5 separate regions of the Homo sapiens genome follow, and regions 2, 3, 4 and 5 are each linked to region 1. The links are contacts of gene promoters, found by promoter capture Hi-C in human tissues and cell types (Jung and others, 2019). All regions are on one chromosome and are shown on one strand. The core of a region is centred on a gene start or on the middle of the fragment in contact, and the rest is flanking DNA. Distances in the headings are between cores, read along the strand shown.

Region 1 (6,029 bases), core at 2,276-4,775:
GCTCAAGCGATCCTCCTGCCTCAGCCTCCCAAGTATCTGGGACCACGAGTGTGTGCCATCATGCCTGGCTAATTTCTCTGATCTTGGTATGTCACCCAGGCTGGTCTTGAACTTTCGGGCTCAGGTGATCCTCTTGCCTCAGCCTCCCAGAGCGCTGGGATTACAGGTGTGAGCCACTGTGCCGCCCCACCCCCCACACCAGTTTTGTTTTTCTTGTTCTGAGGAGCTCACTGGGGGCAGGGGCAGGGGCAGGGCAGGGGGGAGCAGTCTGGGTGGGGGCCAGGATCAGAGCTGCCAGGTGAGACTGAGTTGTGGTCTGCTCTGGGGCATGGCAGACTCTCAGACCATCTCCCTCTCTGGGTCTCAGTTTCCCTTTCTGTAAACAAAAGAGTTGAATTAGAGATGACCTCTAAGATACCTTTTGGACATAACATACCAGCATCTTATGACTCAACCAACCCCATCTGTTTTGGGCTTTGAAACCAGTGCTTTGCACCTGTGGACAATTCTGCCTCCCCTGCTGCAAGGGGACACTTGGCATTGTCTAGAGGCACTTTTGTCACAACTGAGGGGAAGGAGTGCCCCCTGGGCAGGCCAGGGGTGCTGCTCAGCACCTTACAGTGCCCAGGATGGCCGCCCATGACCAAGAATGACTGGGTCCCAAATATCCATAGATCCAAGGTGGAGAAACCTTGTCTTAAAGGCAATAGTCATTTCTGTGTGCATTCCCGTGTTTGCGAAAGGATTTCAGGCCTGTGTCCGGCAGTCATTATAGAGTATTGTACACTCTGTCCTTCCATTACCTCTGTCTGTCTCTCAACAGCTTCCGAGTAGCTAGATCCACTTTTTTTGTTGTCATTTTTTTTTTGAGACAGAGTCTCGCTCTGTCGCCCAGGCTAGAGTGCAGTGGTGCGATCTCGGCTCACTGCAACCTCCACCTCTTGAGTAGCTTGGACTACAGGCGCGTGCCACCACGTCCAGCTAATTTTTGTATTTTTAGTAGAGATGGGGTTTCACTATATTGGCCAGGCTGGTCTCGAACTCCTGACCTCATGATCCACCTGCCTCCCAAAGTGCTGGGATTACAGGTGTGAGCCACCCTGCCGGGCCACTAGATCCACTTTTTAAAGCGTCTAGGGGCTGGGTGCAGTGGTGCATGCCTGGAATTCCAGCACTTTGGGCAGATCACTTGAGACCAGGGGTTCGAGACCAGCCTGGGCAACACAGCAAGACCCCATCTCTCAAAAAAAAAATACAAAAACTAACCAAGCACAATGGTGGGTGCCTGAGGTCTTAGCTATTCAGGAGGCTGAGGTGGGAGGATTGAGCCCAGAAGGTCAAGACCAGCCTGGGCAACATAGCAAGACACCATCTCTACGAAAAGCAAAAACAAAAACAAAAATTAATTAAATTTGGTGGGTGCCTGAAGTCACAGCTGTTCAGGAGGCTGAGGTGGGAGGATTGCCTGAGCCCAGGAGGTGGAGGCTGCAGTGAGGTATGATTGTGCCACCACATTCCAGCCTGAGCAACAGAGTGAGGTTCTATTTCAGAAAATAAAATAAAATAAAATAAGGCATCTGGCTGGTGCGGTGGCTCACACCTGTAATCCCCAGCACTTTGGGAGGCTGAGATAGGAGGATCGCTTGAGCCTGGAAGGTCAAGACCAGCCTGGGCAACATAGCAAGTCCCCATCTCTTAAAAAAAAAAAAATACAAAAATTAACCAAACATGGTGATGGGTGCCTGGTGCCTGAAGTCCCAGCTATTCAGGAGGCTGAAGTTGGAGGATCGCTTGAGACCAGGAGGTCGAGACTGCAGTGAGCTATGATCATGCCACTGCTTTCCAGCCTGAGCAACAGAGACCCTACTTCAAAAAATAAAATAAAAGATAAAGCATCTGGCTGGGGGCAGTGGCTCACACGTGTAATCCCAGCACTTTGCGAGGATCGCCTGAGCACAGGAGGTTAAGACCAGCCCGGGCAAGATAGCAAGACCCTGTCTCAAAAAAACCAAATACATGAAGCATCTAAGGCCCCCAACTCTCATGGCATCCAGGCTGCCTCTCTGTGGAGTAGGTTACCTGCAGCCCCCCAGCATAGATATCGGGTTTGCATCGGGGACAGGGGACTGTGGCTTAGCAAGGAAGGACCCAGAGGCAGCCTCAGCCAGATGAGGAAGTGGGGGGAGGGGACGGCTAAAACTAGACCCTCCCCCGTACAGGGTGAGCGTTTCTCACTCGATTCTCTGTCCTCAATGTCGTCATTCATGCTTGGAGGAGGGACAGTAACACGCAGCATGGAAAAAAAAAAAATCCCTCCTGGATGCTATGGGGTCGGGGGGGGGGCGGTGGCAGCAGCCAGCCAGGCCCTTCCCGCGAGGGTAAGTTCTCCTCGGCAGTAGAAACGCATTTGCTCTCCGGAGGAAGGGGTCTTCGCCTCTCCCTTCCTTATACTGAGCTGGGTGTGACCTCAGCCCCCAGGAACACTCCCACCAGCCCCGCCCCCGACCCCCACCCCCTGCCAGCTGCAGCCACAGGCGTTGACTCCACAGTCTTCTAAGGATGGGGTGGGGTGGGTCCTCAGTGGGCCCCGGACACTCCTGCACTCAGATCCTGGCTTCGCATTTGGGGACGGCCAAAAGAAGACAGTGACATCAAGGAACGGGAGTGAAGCGCTCATTTGAGCCCTGATGTCTGATTATTAACAAATCACATACGAGTTCCAATAAGGAGGAGGCATCTGTGTCTTAAACCATAAACCACCCCCTTCCTCCCCACCCCACAGGACAGCCTTTATCGACACACTTAGATTTTTTTTTTTTTTTTTTCCCGAAATCGTCGGCTGGTGGCCTTCCTAGCGTTATAAATAGGAAATACATAGGGCTAGGATGGGTCTATTTCAGCGTCCCAGAGAGAAGCTGAGGTTTTCATCCGCCCGAGCTCTCAGCGTGTCCTGAAAATGGTGCACTTAGAGGGGAACGGTGCGCGCGGAAGGTAAACTGTGTTGCTGGGCGCAGCTCAGGGAACGGTTTTCCCTGGTACCGGGAACAGGGATGTGAGGGCCTTCACGGAGTCACAAGACCGTGGCTCTCTGCTCCCACCCGCCCCATCTGCTGGAAAGGGATTTAGAGGCGGCAAAGGCTGCCGGATAAACCTTCCAGGGAGACGGTTTATCCTGGGAGAAGGGGAGATGCGCGCACTCACCTCTGCAGCTGAGACAGCCTCTCCTCCTTACTGGCAAACAAAGGCGAGCCCTGCCCGGGTGCAGCTGGGCATCGCTCACGCTCCCCGGGCCTTCAGAGCCTAGGAGGAAGAGGATGCTCGCAGGGGCGGATTCTGCATCCGAGGAAGGTCACCCAGGGCGACGTGGCCAGCGCCCGCCAGCTCTTTTGTGCAGGGGTGGGTGGGGTGCAGGGTTAGCGGTGGGCTCCCCAGCGCGGGGCTGCGGCTGCGCCCCCTCTCATCGCCGCCCGCCTGCGCGCCCTGCCTCCGAGGTAGCTGCTTCTTCCCAGCTCAGGGCTGGCAGAGGCTCGGCTTCCCGAAGACGGTTAATTTATGCTGCTTTTGTGTGCAGGGAGGAGGGGGTGGGGGGTGGCGGCCTGACGGAAAAGCACAGCCCCCTGCCAGAATCCGATCCTCCCCATTGGCTGACAGACAAGCATCTCCGAAAGCCACGCCAGGGGCAGAGGCAGAAATAATTTTCTGATGGCGCATCAGAGATTTAAAAACAAAACAACGGACAAATAAATAAATAAATGGCAAGATGGCCTCATTCCTTAGAGAATGGGGGGTGGGGGAGTTGGGAAAGGTCTTCTTGGCACTTCTCCTTGCAAAGGGAGCAGGGGTGAGGGGTGGCATCCCCCAAAAAGTCTGTGCAGGCAAAGAAATGACTGTCCCCAGGTCGGATGCCATGGCTCACGCCTGTAATCCCAGCACTTTCGGAGGCCGAGGAGGGAGGATCACCTGAAGTCAGGAGTTCGATACCAGCCTGGCCAACATGGTGAAACCCCGTTTCTACTGAAAATACAAAAATTAGCCAGGCGTGGTGGCGTGCGCCTGTAATCCCAGCTACTCGGGAGGCTGAGGCAGGAGAATCGCTTGAACCTGGGAGGCGGAGGTTGCAGTGAGCCGAGATGGCGCCACTGCACTGCAGCCTGGGCGGCAGAGGGAGACTCTGTCTCAAAGAAAAAAAAAAAAAAAGAAAGAAATGACTGTCCCCAGGTCACCGTGTTGTGGGTCCATTAGATGGTCACTTACCATTGATTCAGCCTCGTGCCCTAAACAGGGCTGGGTGCAGGGGAGGCGGAAGTTTCTCAGGCACACTCACTTTGCAGGGCTGCTGTGGGAACGGCGCCCCCTGCAGTTGTGCGCTGGCGTGGCCTCGCCCTGGAGGAATTCAAGGAGACTGTGGAAGATGGTAGGGTGGAGAGTGCAGGCCGTGCAGTCGGACTGGAAGTGGGTTTGAACTCTAGCCCAGCCACTCCCCAGCTGGCAGACCAGTGGGCATGAGTGATCTCACCTGCGGGCCTCAGTTTTTCTCATCTGTGAAATGGAGCCGCTATGGCTTTTCCACATTATGAGATAATGCATAGACAGCACTAAACACAGTGCTGGGGCACAAGAAAAGCTCCCTATGTGTTTCTTTCTCTTTCTTTCTTTCTTTCTTTCTTTCTTTCTTTCTTTCTTTCTTTCTTTCTTTCTTTCTTTTTTTTTTTTTTTTAGGTGGAGTCTCGCTCTGTTGCCAGGCTGGAGTACAGTGGTGCGATCTTGGCTCACTGCAACCTCCGACTCCCAGGTTCAAGTGGTTCTCCTCCCTCAGCCTCCCAAGTAGCTGGGATTACAGGCACACACCACCACACCTGGCTAATTTTTTTTTTGTATTTTTAGTAGAGGCGGGGTTTCAACATGTTGGCCAGGCTGGTCTCGAACTCCTGACTTCAGGTGATCCGCCCACCTTGGCCTCCCAAAGTGCTGGGATTAGAGGTGCGAATCACTGTGCTCGGCCTATATGTATTTCTTGCTATTGCTGTTTTTAATGTTTATTTTATTTACTTATTTTTTTAAGAAACAGGAGTTTTCCCTGTCATCCAGGCTGGAGTGCAATGGCACAATCACAGCTCGCTGCAGTCTTGAACTCCCGGGCTCAGGTGATCCTTACACCTCTTTCTCTCCAGTGGTTGAGACTACAGGCTCCTACCACCACGCCCTGCTAATCTGTGTAATTTTTGTAGAAATAGGGTATCTCTCTATTGCCCAGGCTGGTCTTGAATTCTTGGGCTCAAGTGAGCCTCTCATCTCAGCCTCGAAAAATGTTGGGATTATAGGTGTGAGCCACCGTGCCTGACCCACAGCACTTACTATTAATTGAAATTATTTACACTTTTTTGTTGTTGTTGTTGATTCTCTGCTCCTCCTTATTAGAATATACTGGGTTTTGTTTTGTTTTGTTTTGTTTTGAGACAGAGACTTGCTCTGTTTCCCAGGCTGGAGTGCAGTGGTGTGATCTCAGCTCACCGCAACCTCCTCCTCCTCTCAGGTTCAAGCGATTCTCATGCCTCAGCCTCCCAAGCATCTGGGACTACAGGCATGCACCACCACACCCAGCTATTTTTTTTATTTTTGGTAGAAACGGGGTTTCACCATGTTGGCCAGGCTGGTCTTAAACTCCTGACCTCAGGCAACCTGCCCACCTTGGCCTCCCAAAGTGTTGGGATTACAGGCGTGAGCCACCGCACCTGGCCAGAATATACATTTTCGAAGAGCAGAGGCTCGGTTGTTCTTATGCACCACACGTTCTCCGCACAAGGTAGCAACTCCTGGTCCAAAGCTGTTCAGGAGACGCAGGCAGAGTGCATGAAGGCTGGCTCCCTTCATGACATTCAATGACACCCCACCTAGGCTGGCAGCCTCACCCGCTGCATGGAGGTCTGCACTCTTCCGAGGCATAAAGGTAACCTGCCCACAGCAGAGGCAGAAAGCCCTGATGGGGAAGCAGAGGCCCCAGAGACTTTAGCACAAGGTTGGGACTTCCC
Region 2 (6,029 bases), core at 975-3,474, 850 kb after region 1:
AAACAAAACATAAAGAGATGGTGAAGGGGAAAAGGGGAAGAGTTTTGTGAAGAGCCTTGTGGGAAGAGAGATGAGTTTGGATTTATTTTGAGGGCAATAGGGAGCTAGTGAGTACTACACACACACACACACACACACACACACACACACACACACACACAATTGTATCTTTATCCCAGGCTGTGTCTCTTTTCCTCCCTTCCCAGAGCTGCCCAACCTCATCGTTCAGGTCTCATCTCCAAGGCTACCCTCCCCCAAGGGTCCTCTCCCAGACACCCCACATAAGCAGGTTTGCTTTTGTTCATCTCTATCACTGCCCTCTAAACTCTTCCTCTGTCTGTACAAATAGTCCCATAATTACCAAGCTGTGAACCTGCCTAGCCTGTCACTCACATCCCACAAACTCAGAGAGGGCAGGGATCTGTCTCCCTTATCCACCCTTACAATCCCTGTGCCTGGAAGGATGCCTGACACGTCATAGGTGCTCTGTAAATATCTGTGGGCTGGAAAACGATGGCTTTAAATTTGATAAGGGCTTTTTTTTTTTTTTTTTGAGACAAGGTCCTGCTCTGTCACCCAGGCTGGAGTGCAGTGATGTGATCTCAACTCAGTGCAGCCTTGACCTTCTGGGGCTCAGGTATCTCCCGCCTCAGCCCCCCAAGTAGCCGGGACCACAGGTGTGCATCACCATGCCTGGCTAATTATTTTTGTATTTTTTGTAGAGATACAAAAAACACAAAAATGTTTTTTTGTATTGTCGCGGTGTTGTCCACACTGGTCTTGAACTCCTGGGCTCAAGCGATCCTCCCTCCTCAGCTTCCCAAAGTGCTGGAGCTACAGGCATGACCCACCACCCCTGGCCCATTGATAAGGGCTCTTGTGCCCTTTTGTAAGGGTACAAAATGGGTTTTTGTAACCCTAACCCTTAGGTACCATTAGGTACTCGATCACCTAAGGACACAAGTCCAAGTGTCATCAAGGGGCATGGATTTTTCTCTGTTTTGTTCCCAGCTGTGCCCCAGTGTCTACAGCAGTGTGTGGTCCACAGTATGCATTTAGTACACGTTTGTTGATTGACTTCACAAACCTCTCCTGAGGTTTCTCCAAAGAGAATAAGAACTTCCCACTCCCCGGGTGGGCCTGAAGGATGCTGGCTGGATGTCTGTGGTCTCTGGTCGGGGCTGGAGCCTTTGCCGTGGGAGAGACTTGAGTCTGATGGCAGAGCTGTGGTTCTTCCAGTTCTGAGTGGGACACGGCTCCTGCCTTCAAGAAACCCAGTCTGAGAGGGGAGACAGCCCAGTCCACTGGTGATGGCAGTAGGAACACAATTCCCATCTGTGGAAGTTTGCTCTGTGTAGGGAGAGGCTGACAGCGTTCATGCACTATCTCATTTAAGTGCAGTGCCCAGTGCGGTGGCTCCCGCCCGTAATCCCAGCACTTTGGAAGGCCGAAGAGAGAGGCTTGAGTCCAGGAGTTCAAGACCAGCCTGGGCAACATAGTGAGACGCCCCCCTACTCCATCTCTGCAAAAAATTAAAAAATTAGCTGGGCGTGGTGGTGCACACCTGTAGTCCCAGCTACTGGAGAAGCTGAGGGGGAAGGATCGCTTGAGCCCAGGAGTTCGAGGCTGCAGTGAGCCATGATTGCCCCACTGTACTCCAGCCTGGGCAACACAGGGAGACCCTATCTCTGCAAAAAATTAAACCCTAAAGATAGCGCACCACCCCTGACCTTTTGCAGAGACTACTGAGGCCCCCAGAGGGCGAGGGCCCGGCATGATCTGGGAAGCAGTGTTTGCTGTGAGATTCCCTTTCTGGCAGGGTTCCCTGCCAGCGCTTGGCAAGGCTGCGTCCTGCTGACCCTTCAATCTCAACCCAATGTCACTTGCTCAGAAAAGCCATTTCCGACTCCAGACTGGTCCCCGCTCCCCGCAAGCCCCCCCCCCCGCTCCCACGGTGGGTAACACGGTGTGAATTTCTTCACTGGTTTTTCTTCTCCCGCCCCTCCGGGAGGGGGTGGGGACCCTGTTTTAAGGCACTGGGCGCCTCCCCACCCGGCCTCAGTTTCCCCAACGGCCCAGGGACTGAAGGAAGGGGGCGGGTGCCCGGGGGCCGGGGGGGGCGCGGGCGCGGGGAGGGGCGGTGCGCGGGGGTGGGCGCGGGGCGGGCCGCGGGCGCGTGGGGGCGGCGGCGCCACCTTAAGGCGGCTCAGCCCGCGGCTCCCGGCCGAGCCCCGCCGGAGGGAGGCGGCTCCGCGCGGGGCCCGCCGCCCGCGCCGCCGCCACCGAAACCCGGCCGCGGCGCGCCCGACCTTCTGCGCCGGCTGCCGCGGCCGCCCTCGCCGCGCTCCCGCCCCGGCCGCTGCCCCTGCCCGCCCCGCTCGCCCCGCGCACCCCAACCCGGGGAGGGGCTCCCACGACCCCGGGCGCGCGCGCTTGGGGGCGCGCCAGGGACTCCAGGGTCCCTTGCCCCGCGCCGCTTCTCCCTCCTCCCTCTTTCTTCGGGCAGCCTCCCCACCACCCCACTTCAGCCTCCCCCACTCTTGCCGCCTCCATATCATCAAGCTCTGGTGGCGCCTGGGGGGCTTTTCGGATCGGCAGGATGTACCCCCAGGGAAGGCACCCGGTGAGTGCGGACTGCGGGGAGGGGGCCCCCAGTGTCCGGGAACTCAGACCCTGACGTTTCCCCCACACCCCCCCCAGACCCCGCTCCAGTCCGGCCAGCCCTTCAAGTTCTCGATCTTGGAGATCTGCGACCGCATCAAAGAAGAATTCCAGTTTCTTCAGGCTCAATACCACAGGTGAGGGGGGCCGCCCCAGGGGCCGCGGGAGTTCACCTGGGCGCCGGGGCGGGGCGAGGCCTCCGGGGTATAGGGCGGGGAGGAGGGGCTCCCGGTTGGAGGGGGGGCGCGACAAAGGCCTCCAGGTGGAAGCGCAGGTGCAGAGGGGTCTGGGGACAGTCAGAGCTGGGGCATTTGGAGCCCAGGAAGGGGCGGGGAGGGACTGGGACAGGAGGTGGGGGGAGGTCTGTAAGGAAGTCGGGAGGGGGAGATCCAGCCTCTCACTTTGGAAGCCGGCCCACATGGGGCGGGTGGGAGCCCCTTGCCCTCTCTCTTCTTCTCAGCCTCAAGCTAGAATGTGAGAAGCTGGCCAGCGAGAAGACGGAAATGCAGCGACATTATGTCATGGTGAGGGCACTTATGATGCCAGGGTGAGGGGAGAGGCGGGCAGGGCTTTGAGTCACGGTGGACTCTGGGGTAGGTCCCTGCCCCACTCCGAACCTCGTCTTCCCCGTCTGTACATTGGGCAGGTTGGGATTTCAGGCTCTCTAGGAGGGTCCTCCCAGCTCTGGGAATGGGGAGACAGGGAGGACCCCTCGCCTGATGGGAGTCTCTGTCGGGCCAGGGCCTCTGGACACTTCCTACCTGCCCTGCCTCTCTGGGGAGAGTAGAGGGGGCCCTTCCAGGCAGAGCCCCCGCTTCCTCCTCTGGGACCCCGTGGAGCTGGGGGGGGCTCTGCTTCCTGCTGTGATTCCCCTGAACCTGGGGACTCTTGGAAGACCCTGGCATCACCTATCTGGAGGAGGGCACCCATCTCCACCCTAGACGTTCTTACTTGGTTTTTCCTTTGCAGTATTATGAGATGTCGTACGGGCTCAACATTGAAATGCATAAGCAGGTAACTGGGTTGGGGTTACGCGTGTTCAGGAGGGAGGGTGGGGGTCTGGAAGCCCTGAGAAGGACCCAGAGTGGGCAGCCGGGGCCAGAGCAGACCTAGGGAACACGGGTCTCATCCTGAAATCTCCGCAGAGGTCACAGAGGGCCCATCTGGGACCAGGAAGACAGATTTCAGCCTCGTGGAAGGAAAATGAGTCCCACCTTCTGAAGACAGTATCTAGCAGTTGGAGCGTCCAGCAGAGATGCAGGCAGTGGGCAGGGGCCACCAGGCATCCCCATCAAGGAGGGCACATAGCAGAGGCAGGGCAGCCAGGCCAGGGAGGCTGTGGAAGTGACTTCTGTCCTAGGAGGGAGCTGGATGGCCACTCTTAGAGGTCCCTTTCAACCCAGAAAGTCTGAAGTTTTGAGATGGACCCCAGGTTCTGTTGCTGCTTTGAAGCTTCTGAGATTGGTCTCAGTGTGATTGGCTGGAAGGTTCCAAGATTGTTCTCCAGGCCCTGAATTTGATGCCATGGTTCAGACTGTGACCCCACTACTCCAAAATAGACCTCAAAACTCTGTGGCTGTCTTCAGGGCTTTGAGATTGACTCCAGTGTCGTAAGGCTCTGAGCCTCTTCTGGAGCTTCTCAGTGTGATCCAAGGTTCTGAGACAGACTTCAGGGTTCTGAAATAGACCTCAGGGTTCTGAGATTGACCTCAAGGTTCAGAGATAGACCTCAGGGTTCTGAGATTGACCTCAGTGTTCTGAGATAGACCTCACGGTTCTGAGATTGACCTCAGTTTTCTGAGATAGACCTCAAGGTTCTGAGATAGACCTCAGGGCTCTGAGATTGACCTCAGGGTTCTGAGATAGACCTCAAATTTCTGAAATTGACCTCAGGGTTCTGAGATAGACCTCAAGGTCCTGAGATAGACCTCAGGGTTCAGAGATAGACCTCAAGGGTCAGAGATAGACCTCAGAGTTCTGAGATAGACCTCAAGGTTCTGAGATAGACCTCAGGGTTCAGAGATAGACCTCAAGGGTCAGAGATAAACCTCAGGGTTCTGAGATTGTCCTATCTGTGTACTGAGATGTGTTAAAAGGTTCTGAGGTGTTCCTGAACTTGTGATCTCAAGGTTCAGAGATAGACCTCAGGGTTCTGAGATAGACATCAGGGTTCAGAGATAGACCTCAGGGTTCTGAGATAGACAGGGTTCAGAGATAGACCTCAGGGTTCTGAGATTGACCTCAGGGTTCAGAGATAGACCTCAGGGTTCTGCGATTATCATATCTATGTGCTGAGATGTGTTAAAAGGTTCTGAGGCTATTCCCGAACTTCTGATCTCAAGGTTCTGAGATAGACCTAAAGATTTTTTTTTTTTTTTTTTTTTTTTAAATTTTGAGACAAAGTTTCACTCTTGTTGCCCAGGCTGGAGTGCAATGACCTGATCTTGGCTCACTGCAACCTCTGCCTCCTGAGTGCAAGCGCCTCTCCTGCCTCAGCCTCCCGAGGAGCTGGGATTACAGGCGCCTGCTACCATGCCTGGCTAATATTTTGTATTTTTAGTAGAGACGGGGTTTCTCCATGTTGGCCAGGCTGGTCTTGAACTCCTGACCTCAGGTGATCCACCTGCCTCGGCCTCCCAAAGTGCTGGGATTACAGGAGTGAGCCACCTTGCCCGGCCAATAGACCCAAAGATTCTAAAATTGACTTTAGTGGTCCATGCTTAATCCTGAGATCCTGAGACTGGCCAGTGGTTTCTAAAGGGATGAGAGGGGTCCCAAACTTCTGAGCTTCATGGGCTCCTAGATTCTATCAGAATATTAGAATCAATGAGCAGAACCTTGTATTGGGACTTCCCGGTGGCTGGGAAGGAGAAGGGGGTGGGCTGGGAGTGTGGGGTGCCTGGGGTTGCCCACCCTGGCATGCTTTCCTGCATGTGTGGGGGTTCTGTTGGTTCTGATGTGGGCAGGAGGGGGCTTGTCTGCTGAAGCATGGCGTGGTCCCATGGGTCCACGCAATAGACCCCCCTTTATGGGGTGCGGGACACCCTGGGATCCCAGTTCCACCCTCCTGGTGGGAATAGGAGACACAGACTTCGCCAGACACACAGCACACCTGTAACTCAGGCAGAGGCAAAGTCCGTGGCCATTGTATGCCCGCCCCCTTCCCCACCCACACGCCTTCTCGTCTGCTCAGCCTCTTTGGGGCACCTGGGCCCAGACCCTCTCCAGATGAAATCCTTCCCTTGAGTGTGGCGTGCTGAGATCTCCACCTGGAGGCATCCCCAGCTGGTAGATCAGTCCTGGGAAGCGGAGGAGACCAAGAAAGGGGCCTTGCCTGGGACAGACGTGGGCCAAGCCGGGGCTGGAAT
Region 3 (5,944 bases), core at 3,445-5,944, 650 kb before region 1:
TTCCAGCTAACCCATAGAAGTCACAGGGAGCAGATACAGGCCTGGTGGCTGGCACAGATCAACCTTATCTGTGACAGAAAGACTGGCGCGTGCACACACACACACACCCCTACAGAAGCCCAGGTGGGCATGGGCAGCAGGGAGCCGGGGGAGGCTTCTTGTTAGAGGCCTGGGGCCACAGTGACCAAGGCTGTCGAGATCATGTCTGATGGCTGCCGGGCCAGGGAAGCCCTGGAGGAGGAGGGGAAGCCCCAGGCTTCCAAGGGTTGTGGTGCTAAGTGTAAACCACCGCTTCCCAAGGCCAAATGCCCACCCTCAGACCTGGCCAAAGCAGGACACACTTTTCATGTTCAGAGGCTGCAGTGAGCTGTGATCATGCCAGTTCCCTCCAGCCTGGGCAACTGAGCAAGACTCTGTCTCAAAAACATGAACCTGAACGTCTGTCTTCCTCCAAGCACCCAATTGGTCAAGAGTGGACAAAAAGACCAGGATCCCAGAGCAGAGAAGTCTTCATGGAAAAGAGGGCATTGGAGCTGGGGCTTTGAAGGATGAATAGGAGTTCACATCAAAACACAGAGCCAGGGAGACAAGGACTGACCCAGAAAATAAGCCAGATCAGAAGAAACTAGCAAGTTGGACTGTGAATAATTAACAGCTCATGGGGGCTAGGCTGGTGATGGGGAAGTGTATTCATATTATGCGGGAGTTACACTCAGAAACTCAACTTTCCTAGAATTATAATTCTCCCTGGAACAGGGGCCACTTCTGGCAGCTGTCGGGGGTGAGGGTAGAAGCTGGAAGAGGAGGAGGAAGCAACTGCCCTAGTACAGGTGAGAGATGAGGTAGCATAGTCCAGGCTGGTAGCCGCAGAGATGGGAAGAAGTGGGCGGATTTGCTGGTGTATTTTCACCTAGCTGAGTGTATTTTCACTGTGGTTTAGTAAGCATCTTCTGTTACTGCCTGCAGCCCAGGGGGCATTCAACCCCATGTTTCTAGAACTCTGTTCCTGCTGCTGCTGTTGGCAGCCTCAGCCTGGGGGGTCACCCTGAGCCCCAAAGACTGCCAGGTGTTCCGCTCAGACCATGGCAGCTCCATCTCCTGTCAACCACCTGCCGAAATCCCCGGCTACCTGCCAGCCGACACCGTGCACCTGGCCGTGGAATTCTTCAACCTGACCCACCTGCCAGCCAACCTCCTCCAGGGCGCCTCTAAGCTCCAAGAATTGCACCTCTCCAGCAATGGGCTGGAAAGCCTCTCGCCCGAATTCCTGCGGCCAGTGCCGCAGCTGAGGGTGCTGGATCTAACCCGAAACGCCCTGACCGGGCTGCCCCCGGGCCTCTTCCAGGCCTCAGCCACCCTGGACACCCTGGTATTGAAAGAAAACCAGCTGGAGGTCCTGGAGGTCTCGTGGCTACACGGCCTGAAAGCTCTGGGGCATCTGGACCTGTCTGGGAACCGCCTCCGGAAACTGCCCCCCGGGCTGCTGGCCAACTTCACCCTCCTGCGCACCCTTGACCTTGGGGAGAACCAGTTGGAGACCTTGCCACCTGACCTCCTGAGGGGTCCGCTGCAATTAGAACGGCTACATCTAGAAGGCAACAAATTGCAAGTACTGGGAAAAGATCTCCTCTTGCCGCAGCCGGACCTGCGCTACCTCTTCCTGAACGGCAACAAGCTGGCCAGGGTGGCAGCCGGTGCCTTCCAGGGCCTGCGGCAGCTGGACATGCTGGACCTCTCCAATAACTCACTGGCCAGCGTGCCCGAGGGGCTCTGGGCATCCCTAGGGCAGCCAAACTGGGACATGCGGGATGGCTTCGACATCTCCGGCAACCCCTGGATCTGTGACCAGAACCTGAGCGACCTCTATCGTTGGCTTCAGGCCCAAAAAGACAAGATGTTTTCCCAGAATGACACGCGCTGTGCTGGGCCTGAAGCCGTGAAGGGCCAGACGCTCCTGGCAGTGGCCAAGTCCCAGTGAGACCAGGGGCTTGGGTTGAGGGTGGGGGGTCTGGTAGAACACTGCAACCCGCTTAACAAATAATCCTGCCTTTGGCCGGGTGCGGGGGCTCACGCCTGTAATCCCAGCACTTTGGGAGGCCCAGGTGGGCGGATCACGAGGTCAGGAGATCGAGACCATCTTGGCTAACATGGTGAAACCCTGTCTCTACTAAAAATATAAAAAATTAGCCAGGCGTGGTGGTGGGCACCTGTAGTCCCAGCAACTCGGGAGGCTGAGGCAGGAGAATGGCGTGAACTTGGGAGGCGGAGCTTGCGGTGAGCCAAGATCGTGCCACTGCACTCTAGCCTGGGCGACAGAGCAAGACTGTCTCAAAAAAATTAAAATTAAAATTAAAAACAAATAATCCTGCCTTTTACAGGTGAAACTCGGGGCTGTCCATAGCGGCTGGGACCCCGTTTCATCCATCCATGCTTCCTAGAACACACGATGGGCTTTCCTTACCCATGCCCAAGGTGTGCCCTCCGTCTGGAATGCCGTTCCCTGTTTCCCAGATCTCTTGAACTCTGGGTTCTCCCAGCCCCTTGTCCTTCCTTCCAGCTGAGCCCTGGCCACACTGGGGCTGCCTTTCTCTGACTCTGTCTTCCCCAAGTCAGGGGGCTCTCTGAGTGCAGGGTCTGATGCTGAGTCCCACTTAGCTTGGGGTCAGAACCAAGGGGTTTAATAAATAACCCTTGAAAACTGGATCGGATGAATTGGCTTTCATTGTGTTCCTAGCATCTTCTCAAATCAACTTCCCAGGACTCCAGGGTGAAGGAGGAAAAGAGGCATGGCCCAGGCCCTGGGGTGTGGGATATGGTCTCCCTAGGGGATGACAGTTGGGATCAATGGCCTGTGACTTCTCCTCTCCCTTCCCCCATCCTGGGACCTAACTGGAAATAAAACCTTGACTGTTGCCCGGGTGTCATTTTACCAGTGGATTTCTGCCAGGGCTTGTGTCCTAGGAGAAGGTTTAAGTTAAACCAGATTGCCCAGGTCTCCAAACGATTTGTCATGCTGACCTGAGATCATCGAAGGGGGCACCTGCCCCCGGGCAAGGTTGCAGGGGCAGGATGGGGCTGAAGGGATGAGCAGGGTCCCGGGCCCACCTGCTGATACAGCATTGGCCATGTGGGGGCTGCAATCGGATTTGGAAGACCCTGGGGCTTGGGGGCATGTCCAGTTTTCCCAGCTCCCTAAAAAATGACCATGCAGCCTGGCGCCGTGGCTCATGCCTGTAATCCAAACACTTTGGGAGGCTGAGGCAGGCAGATCACCGGAGGTCAGGAGTTCGAGACCAGACTGGCCAACATGGCAAAACCCTGTCTCTACTAAAAATACAAAAATTAGCCAGGCACAGTGGCACGTGCCTGTAATACCAGCTACTTGGGAGGGTCAGGCAGGAGAATCACTTGAACCTGGGAGGCGGAGGTTGCAGTGAGCCAAGATCACGCCACTGCACTCCAGGCTGGGCGACAGAGTGAAACTGTGTCTCAAAAATAAAAATAAAAATAAAAAGACCATGCCTACATCTGTGGTCATTCCAGGCAAGGCAATGAAAAGGCAGGGTTCTGAGGTCCAGCAGGGCTGGGTTTGAATAGGATCCCTGGCCGGGCACGGTGGCTCATGCCTGTAATCCTAGTACTTTGGGAGGCCAAGGCAGGCAAATCACGAGGTCAGGAGTCCAAGACCAGCCTGACGAATATGGTGACACCCCGTCTCTACTAAAAATACAAAAATTAGCTAGGTGTGGTGGCAGGCGCCTGTAATCCCAGCTACTCCGGAGGCCGAGGCAGGAGAATCACTTGAACCCAGGGGGCGGAGGTTGCAGTGTGTCAAGATCGCGCCACTGCACTCCAGCCTGGGCGACAGAGTCAGACTCTGTCTCAAAAAAAAAAAAAGAAAAAAAAGGAATAGGATCCCTCACTTGCTGTGGTATGCGGGGCAAGTGTTTTATGATCTCTGAGCCTCAGCTTGCTCATCTGTGAAATGGGGATCCTAGGGAAAGGGAAGGCCTGGCTTCTGGCTTAGTTAAGGGGCAGATTAAGAAATAAAAAGAGGCTGGGTGCAATGGCTCACACCTGTAATCCCAGCAATTTGGAAGGCTGAGGTGGAAGGATCACTTGGGGCTCAGGGGTTGAAGACAAGCCTGGTCAACACAGGGACATCTCGTCTCTACAAAAAGTTTAAAAAGTTAGCTGGGGGTGGTGGTGTGTGCCTGTGGTCCCAGCTACTTAGGAGACTGAGGCGGGAGGATCACCTCAGCCTGGGAGGGCAAGGCTGCAGTGAGCTATGATCACACCACTGCACTCTAGCCCTGGGCAACCGAGCAAGACCCAGTCTCAAAAATCGATAAATAATAATAATTAATAAGAAAAGTCATCAGCGAGTTGGCCAAGGTCACTCAGCAGGGCTATGGGGGCTGTGATCGCATGGACTGTCTCTATGGCAACAGCAGTGAGGATGACAGGTGGCCAAACTTGGTCCGGGAACGTATAATAGCTCAATCTTTTGAATCTAGCGCTCCCGAATTACTATGGCAACCGTAGGGCACTGGGCCAGCTCAAGGAGAGGGCGAGGGAAGCCTGGAGCCACGCCCCCTGGGCACGCCCCCGCACGGCCTCTCCCCATTGGTCAGTTCCGGAGGCCCCCACTGCGCGAGCAGCTATAAGAAGGGCGGGCGGGACCGGCGGGGGTGTGGAGACTCGAGCCTGGGGTCGGCGGAGACAGCTGGTGTCTGAAGCCGCTCGCGCCCAGGTGAGTGCCCTGAGGGCGGCGTCCGGGAGCGCCCCCCCGGGCTTAGGAGAGGAGCTCCAGATAGGGTGGTTGGGCGAAGGTCCGGCGGCGTGGGACGGGTATGACCGGCCAGAGCAGGTGGCTGGGACCCTTGGCCCGGTTGGCCCCAGCTCAGGACCCAGTTGGGCGAGGACCAGGCCTCAGAGGACGCGGGGTGGCAACCGGAGGGATCGCAGGCGGCAGGTCTGAGGCCCGAGGTCGAGCTCCCCCCCTGTAACTCTAGCTGGCTGCGTGACCTTGGGACCAGCATGGACCTGCTGCGTACCTCAGTTGCCCTGTCTGTCAAATGAGCTGTGAGTGGACTGGGACCCAGCAGCTACCACCTCCAGCCGTCTAGGGTGCTTGGGCAGTTCTGGGCCCAGGCAGGGGCCGCAGGGGTAGCAGGGACCTCCCACATCTTACAAAACAGGAAGCAGCCCAGAGAGGTGAAGGTGCTTGCCAAAAATCACACAGCTGGCCAGGTGCAGTGTCTCATGCCTGTAATCCCAGCACTTTGGGAGGCCGAGGTGGGCAGATCACTTGAGCCCAGGAGTTTGAGACCAGCCTGGGCAACATGGCGAAACCCGGTTTCTACTAAAAATACAAAAATTAGCCGAGCATGGTGGCACGTGGGTAATCCCAGCTAACTGGGAGGCTGAAGCAGGAGAATCACTTGAACCTGGGAGGCGGAAATTGCAGTGAGCTGGGATGGCGCCACTGCTCTCCAGCCTGGGCGAGAGAGATTCTGTCTTTAAAAAAATAATAAAAATAACACCGCAATTAATGGTAGCATTTGAACCCAGGTCTTTCTCACCTCAGAGACCATGCTTCGAGTCACTCCGGCAACCCTACCTTGCCAGAGGCTCATTATTGGACACCCTCTGTGTACAGAGCTCTGGACATGCATTGTCTGAGCTCCACAGAATGCCCCATTATGCAGATGAAGAAACTGAGGCCCCAAGAGGTTTGAGAGTTGCTCAAGTCACAGAGCCCAATTTGACAGGATCTGATGCCTGGGCAGGTGCTCCCCTTACTCAATCCTGCCCCGCAGGGTGACCCTGTTTGCAGCACGATGTCTGAAGAAGAGGCGGCTCAGATCCCCAGATCCAGTGTGTGGGAGCAGGACCAGCAGGTGAGGGCTGCCCCTCCCATGGAGCAGGGACAGAAGGTATT
Region 4 (6,029 bases), core at 1,436-3,935, 600 kb after region 1:
GGTGAGCTGGCTCCCACAGGATGCACCCTGTTGCCTCCCTGTCTTCGCTGACATGCCTCCTCCGATAGAGAACTCACTCCTCCAGACGCCTACCAGCCCTGTCCTGGGACATCTCTGAGCTTGGGAACACTTGCCCTTGTGCTGAACTAAGCCCCTCCCCTGGGTTTTAAGAGCTGAGAGAGGTGGCTTGTTCCTCTCAGGTCCCATCTTCCTTGTAGCAGATTCGGAGATGTGGGTGCAGGAACAATGGCTTCTGGGGACTCCTTCCTCGGGGGAAGGGCAGTCCCCAGTGCCTCCTTGGTCCTCCCCAGCCTCTCACTGCTGCAGACTCTGGGACCTGTCCCCAATCCCCACCCCTCCCTCAACCAGTGAGTCAACAGGCCCCCCATCCATTCTCACCCTAATGTCTGTTTTCTGATCAGCCCTCCTCCCTGTCCACCTGGCCCCAGCTCAGGCCTCCTCCTACCTCAGCTGGACCTTGGCCTAGCCTCCTCTTTGGCCTCCCAGCCTCTAGTCTTGCACCCTGCCCATCCTCTACATTAGCCCCAAAGGGATATTTGCAACCGACCTGGCCTGTCTCCTCCCTTGCTCTAAACCGTCTGTGGCTCCCCACTGCCCTAGGAGAAAGTCCAGGCTTCTCAGCCTCGCATTGCGGCCCCATCTTCTATGGCTCCTCTGGGCTACCTGTTGCCACCTCCCAGCCTTTCTTTTTGTCAGGGCCTCTCCTGGCCTCAGCAAATCCAACCCAGGTGTCATCCCCTTAGGATACCCTTACATGTACACACATACACACTCACCCACTCACAACCTATACTCACACAGACCTGCATATACTCACAAACGTGTACACAATCACCCACAATACTGACACACTCACAGTCATGCACACACACAAACACACACACACACACACACAAACCTGCCCACAAATGCACCTGCAGATGCACACACATGTGCTTCCTCCCCCGTGGCCCAGGCATACTCACACACACGCTCACACACATAGAAACACACATGTACACTCTCATACACGCACACGCACTAGTATCTCTACACTAGCACACAATGGCACACTTATCCATACATATTTACGCACACCCCTCGTGCACACAGCACTCACATAACACTCGCCTACTAGTAATGACACACTCAAACACGCACTCACACACACACATGCATGCAGTCTCGGGCACACTCACACCCAGACATGCACACTCACCCACACGCACACACTTGTAATACATCCATGCACACACATACACTTCGCTTGCCTACTCACCTCCACATCTGCACACACTCACACGTGTATACCCACTCCAGGGACCACAGCCAGGGACTGCGCCTCTTTCTCCACCTGTGCCCCCTCTGAAGGACAGCCAGGGGCTACCGGATGACAGCGACGGTAGGAATATGGCCTGTTTCATCCCTGTCCCCCTCACCCCTTTCCCACCCCCACCCCCACGGCCAAGGGCAGCTCCAACTCACCGGCATGGTCTGGCTCCCATGCAAGGCGTGGATGGCCGCCTGCGCCTCCGTGTGGGAGGAGAACTTCACGAAAGCACAGCCTGCTCCAAGAGAAGAAGAAGAGGTAGAGGGTGATGGGGTCACAGGACTGGCTGAGCGGGGGCCACAGGAGAGGGGACACAGAGACCTACATGGCCAGTGTCAGACACATGCAGCCAGAGAGAACTGATAACAGAAAGACAGCCAGCCGTTTGCTCAGACGGACAGCTGGACAATCAGCCAGATCAAGGGTCAGAATGGAGGAGAATCACACAGACAGACAGCCACAGTTAGACAAAGACCTGGTCACCCACACAGCCAGCCAGGCTAATGCAGACAGACAGCCACACACACAGAGACCACCAGACACAGGTGAATGGAAACACAGTCCCACCGACAAAGTCCATAGAACATACAGAGGCCACTGCACCTGGCTCCAGACTGGTAGAGTACTATGGAAGGGCCAGCCATATTGTGGAGGGAGGGGGTGGAATGTTCTGGAATTACATAGTGGTGATGGTTGCACGGTTTTATGAATAGAAAAAAAAAGCACTTCATTGTACATTTTTAAAGGGTGAATTTGGTAGGATGTGGAAGACATCTCAATTTTTTTCTTTTTTTGAGTCAGAGTCTTGCTCCGTCACCCAGGCTAGAGTGCAGTGGCGTGATCTCGGCTCACTGCAACATCTGCCTCCCGGGTTCAAGCAATGCTCTTCCTCAACCTCCCGAGTAGTTGGGATTACAGGCGCCTGCCACCACGCCCAGCTAATTTTTGTATTTTTTGTAGAGACGGGTTTCACCATCTTGGCCAGGCTGGTCTTGAACTCCTGATCTCGTGATCCACCTGCCTCAGCCTCCCAAAGTGCTGGGATTACAGGCGTGAGCCACCACGCCCAGCCCTCAATTTTAAAAAGGAAGAACCAGGTAATGGTCTGAAACCGTCAGACACATTCAGTTCTAGTAAGGTAAGAAAGACCAGAGTGGAGTCGGTCCCACATGATGAGCTCTGTGGACAGAGACCGCCAGACACCGTCATTTGGACTCTCAGGCAGGAAGATAGACAGACAGACACAACCAGAGACCACCAGTCAGTCATATGGACAAATCACATAGACAGAACCAGGAGGAAACAGTTTTACGAATAGTCAGGTGGAGGAATCTGAGACCACAGGGCACAGGTAACTCTGTCCGTGGAGAAGCCCCGCCCCTCCCCAGACCCCGCCCCATCACAAGCCACGCCCCTGCATCCCTACTCACAGGCAGCACCTGGAGAAGCCCCCCCGCCTCCCACCAGACACCGCCTCATCCCAAGGTACTGCCCCTGCATCCCCATCCATAAGCAGCCCCTGGAGAAGCCTTGCCCTTCCCCAAGGCCACGCCTCTGCATCTCCGCCCACCCCACCGCAGCCCCGCCCCTCTTCAGGGCCCGTCCCCACAGCCAGCATGCAGAGAGAGCATGCAGGTAGGATCAAGCGGGACCAGTCTCTGCTCCACCCAACCCCTGTGAACCAGCTTCTCCCAGCCAGCCCCAGCCTCCTATTGGCCTGGCCCCGCCCCACCTGGCCAGCCCCACCCCCTATATGCTCAGCCCCGACCCTTCCCAGGGCCTCTCCCCCTGGAGCCAGTCCCTCCTAACTCTACGTATTTCACCCCTCCCTGCAGTACCTCCCCTACCCAAGACCCCACCCTTGCAGCCTCACCCACAGACTTCAGCTCTGGAGAAGCCTCGGGCCTCTCCAGGGCTACATCCTCAGAGCCAGCTCCTCCCCACCCCTGCAGCCACACCTCTCCCCAAGGGCCCACCTTTGGAGAAGCCCCACCCCTCCCCAGGGCCCTGCCCCACAGGCCCCGCCCTCAGAGGCAGCTCCTCCCCACCCTGCAGCCCCATCCCCTCCCCAGGCCCCGCCCCTGCAATTCCGCCCCTCTCCAAGGCCCCGCCCCTGCAGCCTCACCCACAGACTCCACCCCTGGAGAAGCCCCGCCCCTCCCCAGGGTCCCACCCCAGAGCCAGCTCCTCCCCATGCTGCAGGCCCCACCCTCCCCACAGGCCCCGCCCCCAGAGCTAGCCCGGCCCCTCTCGCAGTCCCGCCCCGGCCCCCGCCAGTCACCTTTGCTGCTGCCGTCAGGCCCCCGGAGCACGGTGCACTCGTCAATGACCCCGAAGGGCTGGAACAGCCGCAGCACGTCCTCCTCCGACTGCTGCTTGTTCAGCATCCCCACGAACAGCTTCCGGTCCCCTGTGGGCGGCGACACCCACCTCAGCCGAGTCCCCGGCCTCCGGGAGGGCCTCCGGGATTCCTCCCTCCCTCCAGCAGAGTGGAGGCGGCAGGGCAGGAAGACGCGGCGCCCGGGCCCTGCCGGCTCCGGTTCTGCGCGTGCGAGGGAGGACCCAGCCGCGCCCTTTCCCTGCCCCGGATCTCTCCACCCTCCCACGGGCCCTGCACGCTCCCATCTCCCGGCCTTTGCCCAGGTGGCGCCCCCGCCTGGAATGCCCTCCCTGCAGTCTTTTGGGGTCTCTGCTCCACTGCTCCCCCTCCAGGCGGAGATGACCTTTCCCTCTGGTGCACTCAGAGAGCCCGCACCGAGTACTAGGGCTAGGAGCTGCCTCGCCGGGCCTGGGTCCCTGTCTGTCTGTCTGTCTGTCTTTCTGTCTGCTCCCCGGACCTGCCAGGCGGAGGTGGGCACTGATGGTCCCCGCACTTTCACGGTGCCCAGCAGAGGCCCCTGCCCAACTTTGTCGGGATCAAGAGGGGCCAGGCAGTCACCATCTGTGGAGTGGAGTGAGGGTTCACGTGCTCAGTGGACCAGGGGCCTTGGCAGGCTGGACCCCCTGCTGGGTGGGGCTGGGCTGGAACCTGGTCTGAGGCCGGAGCTGGGCCAGCCTCTCCTGTGTGAGCTCTGCCCCCTTGGGTAACTGCATGCTCCCTGGTAATGGGGAACGTGGTGGCTTCATCTCCTAGGGACGGTGAGCTGGGTTACTATGGAAACCGCTCTCGGCAGCTGTCACTCATGGGGGTGGGAGGGAGAGAGAGAAACCAGCAGAGAGACTGAGAATCAGGGAGAGAGAGAGACAGATCAGAGAGAGAGTGCGCGCGAAAGAGACTGTGAGAGACAGAGAGAATAAGAGGGATGAAGAGACAAGAGAAGAGAAAAAGGAGAAGGAGATACAGAGGGAGATGGAGAGAGAGACAGAGAAATAGAGACAAAAATGGAGACATACAGACCCCACCTCGCTACTCCCTGTCCCACGCTGGCAGCCAGGGTGGAGAGTGTGAAAGGGGCTCCCATCCCAGAGGGCCTTTACCGGACTCCTACATATACCTAGGTATCCTAACACTCCTGCTCCATGCCTCCACTCAACCAAATCTGGCTGCCCTCCTTCAGTCTCCACTTGAGATGGAGAGGAAATATACAAATTTCCAAGAATGACTAGATTTGGGTCCCATGGGAACAGCTGAGTATGCCCCCACCATGGGCACACCCTGACACCAAGGTCCAGCCCCACACAGACAACACTGGCCCCAGCCTGCATGTCTGCCCACATGCCCAGCCTCCAACAGTCAGGCACACATGTGCAAACACACACACCCATGCGCGGGCTGGGCACACGCACATGCACACAGGCAGGAAGGCATCCCCACTGCATACCACACATGTGCGCTTATGTGCACCAGCTGCAGAAACACAAATGCACATGTGCACGTACTCACACACATCTGCACACAGGCATGCCAGGTGTGCACAGTCATATACACACACATTTAAGCATGCACACATAAACACACACATTTCCACACGGAGACCCCAGAGAGCAATCCACAGCCCTTCAGGCCCCCATTGTCTGTGTCTGAAGCCCCCCAGTTATTGCACCCTGAAGGGAGTGGAGTATTTCAAACTCAGGAGAAGGCAGCTGGACCTGGCTAGACCCCCCATCCTCCCTTGGGGCCTATGGACATAGCCCCTTCTGCTCTCTGGAACCTGCTTCTCCCCCCACCAAAAGGTGTGTGAGCAGGCATGCGACTACTGCATGCTTTGGGGCAGGGAGGCCAGTTCCAGATCCACAGGCCTCGGCCACTGCCCCTTTTGCAGGAGAGAGGAAGGAAGAGATTTTCCTTCTTCTCCCATTCCTCCGCCAACCCCCAGCCTGGCAGCCACGGAGAGATGACAACTACCTCCGCGGCTTTCACTGTCCGCAGGCTTCACCTGGATTGGCCGCGCCATCTGCAGAGAGAGGGGGAAGGGAAAAGTCAAGCTTAGCAGTGGGGGTGTGGCAGGCGGGGGGTTTTGCCTGAGCTCTGCAGGCCAGCCCTGCCCACCTCCCACCACCAGCCCTCAGCACCCCACCACCCAACTAACACCCCAGTCAAAGAAATTACACACTGTCCCACCTACAGCGGAAACTGTGTGGCGAACTCTTAGCTCTCAAAACCCAACAATATCCCTTCCTCCAGGAAGCCTCCTTGCTTCCCCAAATGTGATAGGCCCAATTCCTCCAGTCCCTTTATGCGATGTGACTTTGCAGTTCC
Region 5 (6,029 bases), core at 916-3,415, 550 kb after region 1:
CAATGAACCATGGTCATGCCACTGTACCCCAGTCTGGACAACAGAGCAAGACCCTATTTCAAAAAGAAGAAAGAGACAGAGAGAGAGAAGGAAGGAAGGGAGGAAGGAAGGAAGGAGAGAGGGAGGGAAGAAAGGGAGAGAAGGAGAGAAAAAAAGAGAAAGAAAGAAAAAGAAAAAAGAAAGAAAGAGAAAGAGAAAGAAAAGAAAGCAAGCCAGCTGGCATGATGGTTCACACCTGTAATCCCAGCACTTTGGCAGGCCAAGGTGGGAGGATCACTTGAGGTCCAGCGTTCCAGACCAGCCTGGCCAACAAGGTGAAACACCATCTCTATTAAAAATACAAAAATTAGCTGGGCATGTGCCTGTAGTCCCAGCTACTTGGGAGGTTGAGGCAGGAGAATGGCTTAAATCCGGGAGGCGGAGGTTGCAGCGAGCTGAGATTGTGCCATTGCACTCCAGGGTGGAGACAGACCAAGACTCCATCTGATTAAAAAGAAAAAAGGAAGGAAAGAAGGAAGGAAGGAGGGAGGGAGGGAGGGAAGAAGGGAGGAAGGGAGGAAGAAAGGACAGATGGAAGGAAGGAAGGAAGGAAGGAAAGGAAGGAAGAAAAGAAGGAAGGAACGAAAGAAGGAAGGAAGGAAAGGAAGGAAAGAAGAAAGGAAGGAAGGAAGGGAAGGAAGGGAAGGAAGGAGGGAAGGAAGGAAGGAGGGAAGGAAGGAAGGAGGGACGGAGGGAAGGAAGGAAGGAGGGAAGGAAGGGAAGGAAGGAGGGAAGGAAGGAAGGAGGGAAGGAAGGAAGGAGGGACGGAGGGAAGGAAGGAAGGAGGGAAGGAAGGAAGGAAAGGAAGGAAGTAGGGAAGGAAGGATGGAGGGAAGGAAGGAAGGAGGGAAGGAAGGAGGGAAGGAAGGAGGGAAGGAAGGAGGGAGGGAAGGAAGGAAGGAGGGAAGGAAGGAAGGAGGGACGGAGGGAAGGAAGGAAGGAGGGAAGGAAGGAAGGAGGGAAGGAAGGAAGGAAAGGAAGGAAGGAGGGAAGGAAGGAGGGAGGGAAGGAAGGAAAGGAAGGAAGGAGGGAAGGAAGGGAAGGAAGGAGGGAAGGAAGGAAGGAAAGAAGGAAGGAAGGAAAGGAGGAAGGAAGCAAGGAAGGAAAAAAGGAAGGAAGGAAGGAGGGAAGGAAGGAAGGAAAGAAGGAAGGAAGGAAAGGAGGAAGGAAGCAAGGAAGGAAAGAAGGAGGGAAGGAAGGAAGGAAAGAAGGTAGGAAGCAAGGAAGGAAAGAAGGAAAGAAGGAAGGACGGGAAGGAAAGAAGGAAGGAGGGAAGGAAGGAAGGAAGGGCACATGTATATACTGAAAGACATGCATGGAAATGTTCATATCGGTTTTATTTGTAAGAGCCCAGAACTGGAACTAATTGAAATGAACATCCACACTAGAATGGGTGGAAACAGGAATGAAAAAAAAGAAAACCTACATGGACAACAGGGTGATTATGCATTGAATTGTGCTGCCCCCCAAATTCATATGTTGAAGTTCTAACCCCAGGACCTCAGAAGGTGACTTTATTAGGATGCAGGGTCTTTACAGAGGTAATCAAAATAAAATGAGGCCATTAGAGGCCAGGCACGATGGCTCACGCCTGTAATCCCAGCACTTTGGGCGGCCGAGGCGGGTGGATCACGAGGTCAGGAGATCGAGACCATCCTGGCTAACACGGTGAAACCCCGTCTCTACTAAAAATACAAAAAATTAGCCGGGCATGGAGGCGGGCGCCTGTAGTCCCAGCTACTCGGGAGGCTGAGGCAGGAGAATGGTGTGAACCCGGGAGGCAGAGCTTGTAGTGAGCCGAGATCACGCCACTGCACTCCAGCCTGGGTGACAGAGCGAGACCCCGTCTAAAAAAAAAAGAAAAAAAATGAGGCCATTAGTCCAGATCCTAATCCAAACTGATTGGTGTCCTTATAAAAAGGGGGAAAATTTGGACACAGACATGCACTTAGGGACACCGTCACGTGTACATGAAGGCGTCATCTTACAGGTCAAGGACAGAGAAGGGTGGGACAGACTCTCCCTGCCAGCCCTCAGGAGGAATCAACCCTGCCAACACCTTGAATTTGAACTTCCAGCCCCCAGAACCGTCAGGAAATACATTTCTGTTGTTTGAGCCACTCAAGCTGTGCTACTTTGTTAAGGAAGGCCCAGGAAACGAAGACAGATGATTCCAACATACGTTTTTTTCTTTTTCTTTTTTTTAAAGATAGAGTCTCACTCAGTTGCCCAGGCTGGAGTGCAGCAGGGTGATCCTGGCTCACTGCAGCTTCTGCCTCTGGGGTTCAAGTGATTCTCCTGCTTCAGCCTCCTGAGTAGCCAGGATAACAGGTGTGCACCACCACACCTGGCTAATTTTTGTATTTTTAGTAGAGTCGGGGTTTCATCATGTTGGCCAGGCTGGTCTCAAACTCCTGACCTCAGGTGATTCACCTGCCTTGGCCTCCCAAAGTGCTGCAATTACAGACATGAGCCACTGTGCCCGGCCAAGATGGGGTTTTATGATGTTATTCAGGTTGCTCTTGAACTCCTGGCCTCAAGTGATCCTCCCACCTCAGCTTCCCAAAATGCTGGGAATATAGGTATGAGCCACTGCACCCAGCTTAAATGCATTTTTGAGTTATGATTTTATTTTTTTGAGATGGAGTCTCGCTCTGTCACCTGGGCTGGAGTGCAGTGGCACAATCTCGGCTCACTGTAACCTCTGCCTCCCAGGTTCAAGTGATTCTCCCACTTCAGCCTCCTGAGTAGCTGGGACTATAGGCACACACCACCACGCCCGGCTAATTTTTTGTATTTTAGTAGAGGCAGGGTTTCACCATGTTGATTGGGATGGTCTCGAACTCCTGAGCTCAGGTGATCCACCCGTCTAAGCCTCCCAGAGTGCTGAGATTACAGGCATGAGCCACCGCACCCGGCCGACTTATGATATTTTTAACTTATGAAGAGTTTATCAGGACATGGTCCCATCCTAAGCCCAGGAACACGTGAACAACACTGGAGCTGTCAAACCATGGCCCCGGATCAAATCCAGACTGTGATGTTTGATTGCATGGGGCCATGGGGCGAGACCATGCTGCCCGGTTGTTTGCTCCAACAGGCATCTGCATGTTTTGCTCTGAAGGTATTCTGCAGATGTGCTGAATGTCTAGAGTCAGCTGCCTTTAAGTGAAGGAAACGACCCTCTGTAATGTGAGTGGGCCTCGTCCAATCAGTTGAAGGATGTAAGAGCAAAATTCGGGTTTTCCCAGAGAAGAAGGAATTCTGCCTCAAGACTGGGACATAAAAATCCTCATTTCTTCAGGCACGGTGGCTCATGCCTGTAATCCCAGCACTTTGGGAAGCCGAGGCAGATGATTGCCTGAGCTCAGGAGTTCGAGACCAGCCTGGGCAACACAGTGAAACCCCGTCTTTCCTGAAATACAAAAAAATTAGCCGGGCGTGGCGGCGTGTGCCTGTAGTCCCAGCTACTCGGGAGGCTAAGCTGGAGAATCGCTTGAACCCGGGAGGTGGAGCTTGCAGTGAGCAGAGATCGCGCCACTGCACTCCAGGCTGGGTAACACAGCGAGACTCCATAAAAAAAAAAAAAGAAAAAAAAAAAGTCCTCGTTTCCAGACTGTGGGGACTGCCCTACAGTTTTTGGACCCAACACTGCAACACTGACTCTATTTCTGTTTTTTTTTTTGTTTTTGTTTTTGGTTTTCTTTTTTTTTTGGAGACGGGGACTCATTCTGTTGCCCAAGGTGGAGTTCAGTGGTGCAATCTCGGCTCACTGCAACCTCTGCCTCCTGGGTTTCAAACAATTCTTGTGCCTTGGCTGCCCGGTTAATTTTTGTATTTTTAGTAGAGACAGGGTTTCGCCATGTTGACCAGGCTGGTCTTGAACTCCTGACCTCGTGATCTGCCCGCCTTGGCCTCCCAAAGTGCTGGGATTACAGGCGTGGGCCACCGCGCCCGGCCTGCAACATTGACTCTTACCTGAATGTCTAGCCTGCTGCCCTGTTCTATAAATTTTAGACTGGCTAGCCCCCATATCAAGCAAATCAATTTTTTTTCTTTTTCTTTTCTTTTCTTTCTTTTTTTTTTTTTAGACGGGATCTTGTGCTGTCACCCAGGCTTGAGTGCAGTGGTGTGATCACAGCTCACTGCAGCCTTGAGTTCCTGGGTTCAACTCTGCCTCAGCTTCCCAACTAGCTGGGACTACAGGTGTGTACCACCACACCTGGCAAATGTATTTTATTTATTTATTAATTTGTTTGTTTGTTTGTTTTTAGAGATGAGGATACCATGCTGCCCAGGGTGGTCTCAAACTCTTGGGCTCAAGAGATCCTCCTGCCCCAGCCTCCCAAAGTGCTGGGATTATAGGCGTGAGCCACTGCACTCCACAATTCCTTAAAATCACTCTCTCTCTGTCTCTCTGTCTCTCACACACACAAACACTCCCCATTGGTTCTGTTTGAGAACCCTGACTAACACACAGCCCATCACTTATTTTTATAAATAAAGTTTTATTGGTATACACACCCACACCCACTCACTTACATATTGTCTGTGGCTGCCTATTGACTACAGGGACAGAGGTGAGTAGCTGCAATGGGGACTGCCTGGTCCACAAAGCCTAAAATATTTACGATACGGCCTTTTACAAGAAAAAATTTGCTGATATTCAACCTACAAAAACATTTAACAACACAGATGAATCTTACAAGCTTTACGTTGAGGACAAAAAGCCTGTCATTATGGGATTTAGTGTAATGTAGTTCACAGTGGGCAGTACTGATTGATTAATTTACTTTGTTATTTATGTTTGAGATAAACATATGTTCACGTTTTGGGTCTCACTGTGTTGCCCAGGCGGATCTTTAACTCCTGGCCTCAAGTGATCCTTCTGCTTCAGCCTCCGAAAGTGCTGGGGTTACAGATGTCAGCCACTGTGCCCTGTACTAATTTATGAAGACAGAAATCGGGCCAGTGCTTAACCATGGGAAAGTTAGAGACCAAGGGGGAGGATCAGGGTGACTTTGTGGGTGGTGGGGGAAGCAGAAATATTATTTTTCTTGATGAGTTCAGGGACCTGATTACACAAATCATAAATGTGTTTGGTTTGGGACAATTTTTGAGCTGTACCTTTATACTAGATATACTTTCCTATTTGTAGGTTGAATATCTATCAAAAGTTAATACAGGGCCGGGTGTGGTGGCTCACACCTGTAATCCCAGCACTTTGGGAAGCCAAGGCGGGTGGATCACTTGAGGTCAGGAGTTCGAGAACAGCCTGGGAAACATGGTGAAACCCCATCTGTACTAAAAAATATAAAAATTAGCCAGGCATGGTGGTGTGCGCATGTAGTCCCAGCTACTTGGGAGGCTGAGGCACAAGAATTGCTTGAACCTGGGAGACGGAAGTTTCAGTGAGCCGAGATTGCACCACCATACTCCAGCCTGGGTGACAGAGCCAGACTCCATCTTAAAAACAAAAAACAAAAAACAAAAAACAGTTAATATGGGCACGGTAGCTCATACCTGTAATGCCAGCACTTTGGGAGGCTGAGGCTGGGGGATCACTTGAGGTCAGGAGTTTGAGACCAGCCTGGACAACATGGCAAAATCCTGTATCTAGGCCGGGCGCGGTGGCTCACACCTGTAATCCCAGCACTTTGGGAGGCCGAGGCATGCGGATCACGAGGTCAGGAGATCGAGACCATCCTGGCTAACACGGTGAAACCCCGTCTCTACTAAATATACAAAAAATTAGCTGGGCGTGGTGGCGGGCGCCTGTGGTCCCAGCTACTCGGGAGGCTGAGGCAGGAGAATGGCGTGAACCCAGGAGGCGGAGCTTGCAGTGAGCCGAGATCGTGCCACTGCACTCCAGCCTGGGCGACAGAGGGAGACTCCGTCTAAAAAAAAAAACAAAAACAAACAAAAAAAATTAGCCGGGCGTGGTGGCAGGCACCTGTAATCCCACCTACTCCAGAGGCTGAGGCAGGAGA

The links. The method cuts DNA at HindIII sites, captures the fragments that hold promoters and counts their contacts. A contact is called where the count stands out against the background at its distance.
Region 2: a contact is called between the fragment with the promoter of TLE2 here and the fragment with the promoter of ATCAY in region 1, in 2 of the 25 tissues and cell types used here (aorta and small bowel).
Region 3: the fragment with the promoter of PLIN5 here is called in contact with the fragment with the promoter of ATCAY in region 1 in 1 of the 25 tissues and cell types used here (small bowel).
Region 4: a contact is called between a fragment that was not itself captured here and the fragment with the promoter of ATCAY in region 1, in 1 of the 25 tissues and cell types used here (psoas muscle).
Region 5: a fragment that was not itself captured here is called in contact with the fragment with the promoter of ATCAY in region 1 in 2 of the 25 tissues and cell types used here (bladder and heart left ventricle).

What each region holds. Positions count from the first base shown.
Region 1 is chr19:3,878,181-3,884,209 of GRCh38, reverse strand. ATCAY (ATCAY kinesin light chain interacting caytaxin) reads right to left here and starts at 3,525. Exons shown (of 13, transcript NM_033064.5): 1 at 3,202-3,525. RefSeq lists an enhancer at 3,320-3,850. The HindIII fragment of the contact is 15,458 bases long and covers 1-6,029 here.
Region 2 is chr19:3,025,475-3,031,503 of GRCh38, reverse strand. TLE2 (TLE family member 2, transcriptional corepressor) reads left to right here and starts at 2,224. Exons shown (of 20, transcript NM_003260.5): 1 at 2,224-2,623; 2 at 2,701-2,798; 3 at 3,122-3,185; 4 at 3,631-3,675. The coding sequence starts at 2,600. The HindIII fragment of the contact is 30,131 bases long and covers 1-5,255 here.
Region 3 is chr19:4,533,974-4,539,917 of GRCh38, reverse strand. It overlaps PLIN5 (perilipin 5), which reads left to right and starts at 4,694. Exons shown (of 8, transcript NM_001013706.3): 1 at 4,694-4,753; 2 at 5,823-5,903. The coding sequence starts at 5,844. LRG1 (leucine rich alpha-2-glycoprotein 1) reads left to right here. Exons shown (of 2, transcript NM_052972.3): 2 at 967-3,516. The coding sequence ends at 1,978. RefSeq lists an enhancer at 4,988-5,543. The HindIII fragment of the contact is 58,476 bases long and covers 1-5,944 here.
Region 4 is chr19:3,273,567-3,279,595 of GRCh38, reverse strand. CELF5 (CUGBP Elav-like family member 5) reads right to left here. Exons shown (of 13, transcript NM_021938.4): 3 at 5,673-5,724; 4 at 3,612-3,740; 5 at 1,486-1,565. Among named protein-coding and RNA genes, the nearest start is that of CELF5, 52 kb to the right of the region's middle. RefSeq lists silencers at 3,294-3,593, 3,824-3,953, 5,999-6,029. The HindIII fragment of the contact is 8,579 bases long and covers 1-6,029 here.
Region 5 is chr19:3,327,461-3,333,489 of GRCh38, reverse strand. No RefSeq gene overlaps it. Among named protein-coding and RNA genes, the nearest start is that of NFIC, 36 kb to the left of the region's middle. The HindIII fragment of the contact is 6,741 bases long and covers 1-5,535 here.